4 separate regions of the Homo sapiens genome follow, and all the other regions are linked to region 3. The links are contacts of gene promoters, found by promoter capture Hi-C in blood cells and fetal thymus (Javierre and others, 2016). All regions are on one chromosome and are shown on one strand. The core of a region is centred on a gene start or on the middle of the fragment in contact, and the rest is flanking DNA. Distances in the headings are between cores, read along the strand shown.

What was found. Contacts are between HindIII fragments. The CHiCAGO score rates a contact against its expected background, and 5 or more counts as called.
Region 1: a contact is called between a fragment that was not itself captured here and the fragment with the promoter of ATG3 in region 3, in 1 of 17 cell types (erythroblasts). The highest score is 5.6, in erythroblasts.
Region 2: a fragment that was not itself captured here is called in contact with the fragment with the promoter of ATG3 in region 3 in 1 of 17 cell types (neutrophils); the score reaches 6.0 in neutrophils.
Region 4: a contact is called between the fragment with the promoter of CCDC191 here and the fragment with the promoter of ATG3 in region 3, in 1 of 17 cell types (fetal thymus). The highest score is 5.2, in fetal thymus.

What each region holds. Positions count from the first base shown.
Region 1 is chr3:113,754,027-113,757,267 of GRCh38, reverse strand. The region is part of intron 1 of ATP6V1A (ATPase H+ transporting V1 subunit A); the gene reads right to left. Among named protein-coding and RNA genes, the nearest start is that of ATP6V1A, 8.6 kb to the right of the region's middle. The HindIII fragment of the contact is 6,510 bases long and covers 1-3,241 here.
Region 2 is chr3:113,690,581-113,693,350 of GRCh38, reverse strand. The region is part of intron 1 of USF3 (upstream transcription factor family member 3); the gene reads left to right. Among named protein-coding and RNA genes, the nearest start is that of USF3, 4.7 kb to the left of the region's middle. The HindIII fragment of the contact is 3,967 bases long and covers 1-2,770 here.
Region 3 is chr3:112,560,474-112,563,339 of GRCh38, reverse strand. ATG3 (autophagy related 3) reads left to right here and starts at 1,378. Exons shown (of 12, transcript NM_022488.5): 1 at 1,378-1,883. The coding sequence starts at 1,812. SLC35A5 (solute carrier family 35 member A5) reads right to left here and starts at 1,295. Exons shown (of 7, transcript NM_017945.5): 1 at 1,067-1,295. RefSeq lists enhancers at 997-1,806, 1,807-2,616. The HindIII fragment of the contact is 1,809 bases long and covers 650-2,458 here.
Region 4 is chr3:114,054,688-114,057,899 of GRCh38, reverse strand. CCDC191 (coiled-coil domain containing 191) reads left to right here and starts at 1,374. Exons shown (of 17, transcript NM_020817.2): 1 at 1,374-1,523. The coding sequence starts at 1,434. QTRT2 (queuine tRNA-ribosyltransferase accessory subunit 2) reads right to left here and starts at 1,163. Exons shown (of 10, transcript NM_024638.4): 1 at 1,036-1,163; 2 at 794-901. RefSeq lists an enhancer at 1,223-1,632. The HindIII fragment of the contact is 7,070 bases long and covers 1-2,269 here.

The DNA of each region.
Region 1 (3,241 bases), core at 608-3,107, 1.2 Mb before region 3:
AGTACCTTAGGGAGAATGAGGTGATATTTAAAACACACACACACGCCCCACTGTACAATAAGCAGGTACTACAGGGCCATATTCAGGCACTGCAGGTATACTACGTTGGGACCTGAGAAGATTCTGTATTTTAAGTGTCTATTTTGGATCACATTGAAGAGTTTGGTGTCAGTCAATCTGCTTCTTAGATTCATAGAGATACTTTTTCCTTTCTTGAACAAGTGAAATATTGGGCACTGAAACCAAGTGTGTTATATTCAAAATAATTTGTGGATTTTATAACTCATCTAAATAAAGCTCCTCGCTACCTCATTTTGCATTACCTACGACTAGGACTCACGGATTATCAAAAACTCACTTTTCACAAGAAAGGACCCAGCTATTCCTCTATTTAGCTAGCTACCACACTCTTAATGTTCAAATGCAATCTGATTCACTATTTAACTATTTGAACACTCTTACATAATTGCTTTGGTACATAAAATCAGCAACTTCACAATTATTAACAATTACAGCATTTTACTTTTTCAACAATATCTATTCAAACTTCGATTGATAGAATTTCAATGTATAAATCACATTAAGGAGTATTTCAAGTTATATCTAAAATACTTACTGTTATTTGAAAGTAGTAAGTCCAAAGGTCACACCTCTCATACTGACATTGTTACATTAATTCCATATGATAGTAACTTAAGCTATTACATGATGGTAGATCACACACAATTCAGGGATGCTAGAAATGTTAAAAGCACACCTTCCAAAGACCCAAGCTAAATGGCAGATTTTGGCAAATTACTAAGGACAAAGGTGAACTTCTGAACATCCCTAAATTGGAGAGCAATTTGGCAGTGCCCACCAAAATTCAAATTGTACTTACCTTTGACATGGCTAGTCCATTTCTAGGAATTTATTGTAGATGTACAAAATGTTCTATTAACAAAATATTAACTATAGCACTGTTTCTTAAGCAAAAGATTGGAATGTCCATTAATATGGAGGCTGGTTAAATACCTTGTAATACTATGACAGGCTACATGTTTAGCGGTATTATGGCAGCAATCTCTGGAAAGTGACTCCCTGGGCTCTAATCCTGAGCCCTACCACTTATAAACTGTGTGACTGTTGGACATTTAATCATCCCGTGCCTAGTTTTCCTCATTTGTTAAATATAGAAAAATAGTGCCTATCTCATAGGTTGTTATGAGGCTTCCATGAGTTAATAAAACTAAAGTATTAAGAAAGCATTTGGATCAGGAGTAAGCTCTCAATAAATGTTACATATGATGATGAGGGTATATTAATACAATTGAATACTAAACTATCATTAAAAAGAATGAGGCAGTTTTAACTGTATCAATGTGAAAAGATCTCCAACGTAATACTCAAGCGAAAAATGTAAGGTCCAGAATAATACGAAGAGGTGCTACCATTTGTGGATAAATATATGGGGGAAGAAAAGAATAAGGATGAGGGGAGAGAAAACACACTTGTATGAATATATAAATTTTACCATATTTGTACATGTATTACCCATTCAACTGAATTAAAAATATTGTTGGATGAGTAAATGAATGTTAAAACAACTGAGCCAAGTAAAACTATTATATATTGCACCTAATTGACTGAGCAAATAATAGCACATATTATTATTACATATATATTTTTCTGAGACAGGGTCTGGCTCTGTCACCCAGGGTCTGCAGTGGCACGATCTCAGCTCACTGCAACCTCTGCCTCCCAGGCTCAAGCAATCCTCCCACCTCAGCCTCCCGAATAGCGGGAACTAGATGTGTGTGCCACCACGCCTGGCTAATTTTTTTTTTTTTTTTTTTTGTACAGACATGGTTTTGCCATGTTGCCCTTCAATTCCTGGGCTCAAGCAATCCGCCTGCATCGGCCTCCCAAAGTGCTGGGATTACAGGTGTGAGCCACTGCACCCAGCTGGCAAATATATATACGGTCCTTATGTGCTAGTTATTATTCCAATCGCTTCTATTATTCACAACATCCAATGAAGTTAAATACTCTTATTATCCTTATTTTAAAGTTGAGAAAAATGCAATGCAAAAAGACACAAGTAACTCCTCCAAAGTCACACCACTAGGAAGCAGAGCCAGGATTTGACTCACACAGTCTGGTTTCCTTCATCTCTTTGTTATATTAATACTACTCTAAAATTATTTTTATTTACATATATCCCAACTCTTGTAAAAAAAACTTTGGACAGCTTACATTAAAGCACATATATGCAATTAATAAAACTGGTAATGAAAAGGGGAAGTAATACCAATGTGAGAAAAAAATACAGCTACTTTAAGTATGCAACAAATCCAACTCTAAAGCATCTGCTATTTTCTGTCTAGGCTTTGAATGATGTATTCTACGGAGATACTTTTAAAAGGACAGAAATCAAGTATTAAACAATTATAAGTACTTTTTATTTTGCTTCTTTAAAGAAGTTCTTGTTTAAAGTTTTCTTAAGGCAAGTTAATCTTGTAATCCAGTTTATATGCCAAAACCCAAATAGGGACTTTTCTTATGATTCTGTCATATGATTAAGTCAGGTGACAGATCCCACACTTGTGCAATGTGCTCTACACTCTAAGGCAGAAAGCGTGTCGATAGCACTGACTATCCATACCAAAAATAACATGCCAAATTTGTAATCCTATCTAGTAGTCCCTATCATTTTTTGGTACATTTTTCTTTTCTTTTTTTTTTTCTTACTTTTGAGACAGGGTGTCGCTCTGACGCCCAGGCTGGAGTGCAGTGGCACATTCGCAGTTCACTGAAACCTTGAATGCCCCGGGATCAAGTGATCCTCCCACCTCAGCCTCTTGAGTAGCTGGGACTACAGGTGCATGCCATCGTGCCCAAATAATTTTTTTAATTTTTAGTTTTTACTGGTAGAGGGGGGTCTTGCCATGTTGCCCAGGATGGTCTCCAACACCGGGCTCAAGCGATCTACCTGCCTCAGCCTCCCAAAGTGCTGGGATTACAGGCGTGAGCCACCATGCCCAGCCTGTTTTTCCTAATTACAGAAACACTTCATGTCCACTGTAAAAATAAAAACATATAATGTAAAGTGTAAGGAAGAAAGTAAATCATCTTAGTGCCCATTGTTTCCCATAATCCATCATATACACAGACATGTACAAACATGTAGTTTTATATAAATATGTTACTATGGATATTCTGTCTCTTTCCTTTTCTGCTTATTTCCTCTTTCCAACGGTGA
Region 2 (2,770 bases), core at 137-2,636, 1.1 Mb before region 3:
CCCCACCATACTGCTAACCAGGGCCTCCATGTTGAGCAACTCCAGGGGGTACCATTCACATATTCTTGAATACCATTGCAACATGGCAGAAATAGAACTCCACTAACATAGGAAATGTGTTCTTTTTATCTTTGTATTTTTGGGACCTAACATTGTATTTGTGATTACTAGGCAGTTAATAAATGTTCTTAAATGAGTAAATGACTGCCATGTTATATATTATAAAAAGATAGCCATATACATCTTGAACGTAAGTTGATTTGGCATTAATTGATTTTGCTATTAAATATTTTTATGTCCTATACTCCTATTATAGATTTGTTAAAGGTTAGTAGAATCTAAGTGATTGTAGTTGTGACAGACCCCTTAAATATGTAATCTTCCTTCCAGTATGCACAGGCATATATGTGTCCTGAGTCTTTTACTCTGTGCTGTAAAGGTATACATTTATTATTCATAAAATATTTGTGGAACTCTTGCTAAAAGAAACGTGGTTAACTGTCCAATTGGATAATTTTTCTTTTTCTCATTAAAATTTCCATATGGGGACAATTGCACTACTTCAGAAGGCCAGATCTTTTAATTAGATCAGTAGGACATGATAAGTTGTTTCTATTAGTGTGCTAATACTGTGTTTTTAATTCAGTTCACCAAGTATTTATTATTTACCATGTGCCCAACACTGTTAGGTACTGAAGAGAATACAGAAATAGTAAATGGTGGACTCAGCTCATAAGAACGTTTTAGACTTATTAGGATTGTTTAAGGAACTCAATGGAGTATTCATTAGATGCTAAATTAAACATAAGTATGTAAAATCTATGACATAATGATTAATACAAAAAAAAGGAAAGACCAGATATTCTTTCAGCAGACATTTATTACTCAGTTACTGAGTGCTAATTGTTGAGGATACAAACATGAAATTTTTTTTCATGTTTGTATTCTCAGTAATATGAATAATATGAATTTTTTACATATTTGTATTCTCAATAATTAGCACTCAGTAATGGAGTAATAAGTTTCTACCATTTATTATAGTCTGGTGGTGAAAACTAGTAAGTATATAGATTGTATTTCATGTTAAGACATTGTGGAGTATTAGGATGTTTGGGAGTATGAAGAAGGGTATTTAGTCTAACCTCTAAGGCAGGGGTCCCCAAGTGGCCTGTTAGGAATCAGGCCGCACAGCAGGAGATGAGCTACCCTCCTGTCAGATCAGCGGCAGCATTAGATTATCATAGGAGTGCGAGCCCTATTCTGAACCACACATGCAAGGGATCTAGGTTGCATGTTCCTTATGATCATCTAATGCCTGAGATAGATGGAACAGTTTCATCCTGAAACCATCTGCTCCACTCCCTGTCCATGGAAAAATTGTCTTCCACGAAACCAGTCCCTGGTGCCAAAAAGGTTGGGACCACTGCTCTAGGGGTCAGAGAAATCTTTAAAGAGGATAATGAAGAGTTCTCAGGAATTCCTTAAACAGCAGAAACCAAAGAGAAGGAGATAAGGAGAAGAAATTGTAGTGTCACCGCTGTCTACCTCTGTGTCATTTGAGGGACCAGTTTCTCTTTGGTTATAAACAATAGAGATTGAATTTGGCTAAGCAGCAAATGGATACTGGATAAACTCACAGAAAGAAAGGGAGATAGAATAATGAAGGCTTGGGAAGGCCAGGAAAACAGAAGCTCCCAGGATCATAAGGATCCATGGGGCTAACTCAGCCTCAGCAAGATATTCTCCTTGTGCAGGGAGTCTTATTAGTTAGCCCCATGCCCACCCCAGAGGTGAGCCTGTGTTTGATGGTCCTATCAGATTTCAGGAATGGGACAGAGAAGATCTCCGAAGGAAAGGCAGGATATTATTGTCAGAAGGCCAAAACAACAGATTTATTACAAAGTTCATCGGATTTGGCAGTGTGGAAGTCTTTTGTTGAGCTTGGTTTAAGCAGTTTTAGGAATAAAAGTCAGGTAACAGCTGGTTGAAGAGTGAATAAGAAGTGAGGAAGAGGGGGTAGTAAGTGTAAACAACTTGTTCAAGAAGACTGGTGGTTGGGAGGAAGAATGGGGACACCTGTGGGGAGTTGCAAGGTCAGGAGAAAAATCAGTTTAGGTTTTTACATGGAAAAAGTTGAATAAGGATTTATTTTTATTTTTGTTGAGATGGGATCTCACTCTGTCTCCCAGGCTGGAGTGCAGTGGTGCGATCTTGGCTCACTGGAACCTTCGCCTCCTGGGCTCAAGCCATCCTCCTACCTCAGGCTCCTGATTAGCTGGGATTACAGGTTTGCAGCACCACACCTGGCTAATTTTTTGTATTTTTGGTAGAGATGGGGTTTTGCCTTGTTTCCCAGGCTGGTCTCAAACTCCTGAGCTCAAGTGAGCCACCTCCCTTGGCCTCTCAAAGTGCTGGGATTACAGGTGTGAGCCACCGTGCCTGGCCCTGAATAAGGATATTTTTAATGGAAAGGCACTAAGAGAGAAGGAGGGATTAATAATATATGAGAGAAAAGGGACATTATGTAAGAAGTTTACTAAGTAGCGAGAGTGATAGAGTCCAGAGTATAGGTAGAGGGTTTAGTTTTGCTAGAAATATTAGGGAAGATTTTATATAGGAGGATAGACTTGCACCGGACTTTAAAGGGTTGGTAGGATTTGGATAAACAGAGCAAAGTGGAAAGGTCATTTCAGTGGGAAAATAGCATGAATTTAGCATAAAGTGAAGTAGCTGATAAGGCGCACAGGGATAAACCTGTCTGAATTGAAGA
Region 3 (2,866 bases), core at 129-2,628:
TAAACGCAAATACCATTGATCGTGAGGACAAAAAAGGAATTTTTAAAAAATTTTGGCTATGACTATATCAGCACCAAGAAAGTTGAGGCATAAAGAAACTATGACAAAAGGAAAGTGAAAATCTGATAAGAGGGAGTACTCTGGAGACAGAAAACGTAGAACCAGATTAGACCTGCTGACAAAGGTAGCAGGTGAGCAAATGACACTTTGCAACAGCAGAAAAGAATTCTTCAAAGCAATTTTGAATTTTATTTTTAAATTTTATTTATTTATGTATTTTGAGACGGAGTCTCGCTCTGTCACCCAGGCTGGAGTGCAACGGCGCGGTCTTGGCTCACTGCAACCCCTACCTACCGGACTCAAGCGATTCTCCTGCGTCAGCCTCCAGAATAGCTGGGACTACAAGCGCCCGCCACCACGCCCGGCTAATTTTTGTATTTTTAGTAGAGACGGGGTTTCACTATGTTGGCCAGGCTGGTCTCGAACTCCTGACTGTGATCCGCCCGCCTCTGCCTCCCAAAGTGCTGGGATTACAGGCGTGAGCCACCGCGCCCGGCCTCGCTTTTACTCTTATTAGTAAATAATTTTGCTGTAAGATAAGGCTTTCAGAATTGTATTTTCCTCCTCTTTTCCCTCGGAGGAAAAAGCTTATTAGGACAGACTTCATTACAATAACGACCAAAATGGAAATATCTGAAACACTGCTGTAAAGTTTTACTGAACTAGTTAGTGTTTGAAATGGAGGAGATCGTAGAAATCAATGAATCTAAGGCCCTCTTTTGATAGGCTGAGGACACTAAACCCCAGGTTGGGTAAGTAACTTGCCCAAAGCCTCCCAGCGTACTGTAGGAATAGCGCATAGAGCCTGCGGGGAGTGGGGAGAAATGCCAATACTGACAGCCCCATTGGGCGCACGCCTACAGGACGCCTCCCCGACAGGAGGGGGCCAGATTTCCCTTCACAGTCAGGGACTACCCTTCTAGTCACACATGCGCAGTAGGGCTCTTCACTGGCGCACCCTCCCCTCAGACGCAGGCGCAATTCCTTGCCCGCGGGGCGCGGTTACCTCCCTCAGAAGAGCTTCTAGTGGAAGAACGCACATCCTAGAGCTGAGACAGTAACTGTCTAGCCCCGTAGTAGCAGCAGTAGCCTTTAGGGTCCATACGTGGAGAAGCTACAGTAGGTATAGGCGAAAAAGCCCCTCCCTCTAAGCCGCCTATTGCAGAACAAAAACCACGATTACGTCCGGATTGGGAAAAAGCGGACCCGACACCCATTGCGCAGGCACGTTCAGTGTTACGCTTCCGGAAGGAGGGGAGAAGCGGCTTATCCCGCCCCAGCCCGGCCCCTTTCTCACGTCACGTGCCGGGAGAGTCTAGTGTCACGTGAGGCCCCGGTGGCGGCGCAGCTACGGCAAGAGAGTGAGAAGGAAGGGAAGCCGGAAGGGGCGCGAGTGAAGCAAAGCGAGGACAGACAGCTCGCAGAGGGCGAGGGGTGCGTGTGCGTCCGCTTCTCACCTCAGGTCTCCCTTCGGCCCCGCTGCCCTCCCTCGCGGCTGGGTGACAGCTGGGTCCGGTCCGTCGCGGGCTGCCTGGGGTGCGAGGATCGCGCACCCCGTCTTCGCGCGCTGTGCCTGCCGCCCCGCCCCCTCGTCCCGCCCGTCCCGTCGCGTCGCGTCCCGTCCCCTCGGGTGCTGCCAGCCGGGTGCTGATGCGAGTCGGTGGCAGCGAGGACATTTTCTGACTCCCTGGCCCCTGACACGGCTGCACTTTCCATCCCGTCGCGGGGCCGGCCGCTACTCCGGCCCCAGGATGCAGAATGTGATTAATACTGTGAAGGGAAAGGCACTGGAAGTGGCTGAGTACCTGACCCCGGTCCTCAAGGTAAGCCAGGCCAGGGTTGCCGGGAGCTGTCAGGCACATGCTCGACTTTTCAGGGACCAGGCGCCGCAGGAGTCCCCGCTTTCTCCGGCGGGGCAAGGTGTAGGAAGGCAGTAGGGCTCGAGACACAGGGAAGTGTGCAGCCCCCACCCGTAGTCTTAACCGGCTGTTCGTTAGGGCTTTCTGACTCCTCAGGGGTAAACTTGGAGCGACGCTCTGCGTGTTCCTGCCTTCTCCCGTCATAACTCTGCGCGGTCGGGTACGTCGGGTTGGAAGGGTGTTCGGAGGCTGAGTAGATTGAAGAACGTTAAATCCAAACACTGGAAGTCTTTTAGCCTTTTTAAGCAAGGATTTTGCTTCTCTTTAAAAAATGAATTTAGTGTTTGACACACAGAGGTCAAAAGAGACCTGAGGTGAGGTCACTTTTCCTTTAAGTTTCATGAAAGTCCGCTGTAGTGGGGAAGTTGTGACTGCGATCCCAACTCGTTTAGATTTCAGAGGAAGGAGGTGAAATTGGCAACATTATCTCATTCAGTAACCTTGAACCCATCTAACGAGCAAAACCTTTTTCCCAAGCTTTTCAGATAGCCGTAGCTGGTTATTAGTGATAACAAGGCACGGTTTGACCTTCCTGGCTGTATAATTTTTAAAAATATATTGGCAACAGTACAGCATTTTTAAAGTAAAAAATTGTGACACATTAGCTGTTACAGTAGTGACTGATTTTTTTTTTAAAGGTAAATTTCTACAACTGCCTTCAAGCTTTTCTTTTATAACTCTTTTGGAGTGTTTTGTTGTAACTTCATTTTTGCTTTCTGAAAAGTGAGCAAGAATAGTAAATTAATGGGAAGTTCTTGCTTAGTTTTTGTTTTTTTTTTCTAGTTGTTTTTAAGCTTTCAGTTAGAATGTACCAATCTCAGTGTGGGGGTGAAATACCTTAATATGCTAAGAATAGTGGAGAGTTTTGCTTTGCTCCCTTTCCATGA
Region 4 (3,212 bases), core at 125-2,624, 1.5 Mb before region 3:
TCTTCTTCTTTTCCCTTTCTCCCTCCCGCCTCTAATCCATCCTCCCAGTCTCTGCAATCTTTCTCCATTCTCATACAAATATTTAAACATACTTGCATATGGGAGGGAGTGTTTTGGTCAGGGTTTGCTTTTACAAAAATGGAAACATATTATACTATAATATATGCACTTCTCTGCAATTTGCTTTTCTCTCAAGAATAAACATTAGACGTCTTTCCTGAAGAAGAGACATAAAGCTAACTTACCCTTTTGAAAAAAACTACTTCGTGGTACTGCATAGTTTGTATGAGCACAATTTATTCAACCGCCTTTCAGACAGACCAGTTACAGAGCTGGTCCTAGGATCGCTGCAACAGTCCGAGGGCATAGCTTCCCTAACTTCATTTTCACCAATTTCAAATCAACTTTAGTTTACATTTCCTGGCAGAATGCTTCACATACATTTATTTTTAATCATTACAACACTCCAGTGATTCAGGTATTATCGTCCCCATTTTGCATGAGAAAACAGGGTCTCTGAGTTATTAAACAAGTTGCCTAGGGTCATATAGCCACAAAGTAGTTGAATTCAAAACTCCTGTTCTAAATCTTTACTCTGCTTTATAAGCCCATTTATCACCCCTAAATGGGCTGTCTCTGGAAACACCTCGGCTAAGCCAATAAGCCTGGATTTATCTTTGCTCCATGGGCCATCTCCATGGCCCCAGACCTCCCTAGGCACCTGGCTCAGAGATTGAAGACGGTCCCACCCTCCCATGGGCAGTTCGGAATAAAAACTTCCTGAAAACTCTACCTTTCAGCAGAGGCTAGTCGAAAGGGGCCCTTTTATCTCAGAGGTGTCGGCGACGCTCACACGATTTATGAGAATCTGAACTTACAGAAACCAATCCACCAGGACACCCTGAAAAGGGAAGCAGAGGAGACATGGCGGGAGTACAATCACCGTTACTGCAACACAACCAGGAAGCGTCTGGACGCGACGTGACTCATCCATCTCTAGCAGCTCCCACACCAGCAGGGCAAAGGGGCACTTACCTGCCAACAAACCATTCGACTCTTTCAGTCTTCAGACCCCTCAAACTCCTCACAGTTCACTACCACGTGTTGCAAAATTCTCTGCCCCAAAATCACTGCCTCCAGTGCAGAGCCAATCAGGGAGTACTGCGTCATCACTGGGCGCCAGAAAAAAAGCAAAGCCGACATTCAAGCGAGCCTTGATGACGGCAAGAGCGAGGGACCTCTGCCGTTGCTATGGTAACTGAGCCAACGCGAGCGGCCTGCGCAGAGCCTCGTGGGAGTGGTGGTTCGACGGTGTCCTATGCCTGCTTTCCTTGCGGGCGGAGGAACTACAATTCCCAGCGTGACCCGGAGGCAGCCCGGGCAGAAGGGCGGTTGCTGCAGCTTTGGCCGAGGTTCGGGCTCGAACTTGGAAAATGCTCCTGGCGCCTCAGGGAAGGTCCTTCTCAAAGAAAAGGATGGGGCTGAATCGCTGGAAACGGTTCACAAGGAAGCCGAGTCCCAAGGTGATCCCAATCGAGAGCTTTGGAGGGCGGGGACTTTCCCAAGGCGCGGCGCAGTCAGGAAGCCAGTCGCGGCCCGTCTGTGCTTCCTGCCTCTTCATCCTGAGCTGACACGCCCCTGCCTTGACCGCCCCAAAGCCAGCATTACCCTGAGTGAAATGCTCTAGGAGCTCTGGGGTCTGGGCACATTACGGCTTTGGTGGGCAGCATCGTGGAAGAACTGTTTGTAACGCTTTTCTAAAACCGGAGGTGTCTGCTAATGCCCATCGGGGTGAAAGGAGTTTGCAAACTCCGTTCCCCCTACCTTAAATTTTAGGAAACTTCTCGCACATTTCTTTCTTTTTCTCTCTCTTTTTTTTTTTTTGCAAATCTTGGGGTAATTGATCTTTATTAACGGGAGAGAGCTTCACATTAAATACCCTGCCTATATTCCTGCCCCTTCACTTTTACGTAAAGTATCTAAATAAACTCAGGAGTGCAAATGGATATTGAATACATTAATACTTGATTCACATAGTAATTTCTAAATTCAACCAACTTTCAAAAAATAGATTCTCTCCGTATCTATCACCCATTTGGATGCATTAGCACCTGAAGATAAGAAAAAAATAATAACCCCATTTTAAACTTGAAACATATGTGACATGTGCAAAGTCACAGTTGCACCGTGTGCTTTCCACAGACTACCTTTTTAACAGTCCCCAAAAAGATGCTTAAAATCTAAATGAGAGTACTAAAATGGAGAAGCTTCTCAGCTTTCAGCTACAGAGCAGTTTCACCAGCTGTTTTCACCCTTAAGTTATACTTTCCTAAATAATATTCTGTAGATGTATGTGGCCTTTTTGAGGGCCCCAGGCGATTGTTCTTGCGATTTATTCTAAATTTACCAGCTAAATGCATTGGACATATTCCACATGACAAATATGTTGCCCTAGATACTAGAGGGCACAGACTGAAGCATCAGGGAGACTTGGAAACTGAGGCTGCTGCTATTTCAATACATCAGTTGCATAATGTATTGGATCCAAGATAGGATATAGATATGGACTTGATGATGAAAGGTAAAAATTTAGAATAATTTCTTAGGACTCCAAAAGGAAGGATTTTTGCTGCTAGTGCTCATTATTACTGCCTAGAGAAAAAAAGGTAAAAACATAGGGCTTCTTCAAGTTCAGTTGTATTTTAATTAGATCAGCTCTTTCTTTGTTGCAGTGACAAAATTATTAAGCAGTACAGCTGCGTTAGTTATCAGTAAGATGCTTTGAAGGTAAAGTGTTAGGTAAGTGAAAGAGTATTATATTTTTCCCACCTCCATGTGTCAGTATGCTAGTTTAGATATCCCCTTATTTTATTATTATTATTATTATTATTATTTTAAAGAGTATATTTGAGTAAGAAGCAATTCATGAACTGGGAACGCCAAACCAAAAGAGATTTAGTGCTCCAATGACAAATCATCAGGATATCCCCTTATTTTAAAAACACACCTGAATTTTTAGTGAAGAAGATAACTCTATTTGTTAAGTGACTATTAGAGGGAATTCTGCAAGCTTCTGGGAGTTTCAGAGGTTGAAGAAAGGAAATGTCCTGATAGTTTTACTTCTAATTTCAGATTAATACCTGACTGATCTGGGTGGAAATTTATATTTTCTGCTTTGTAAAACAGTAAAAGTCAGATTGATTAACCCTCGC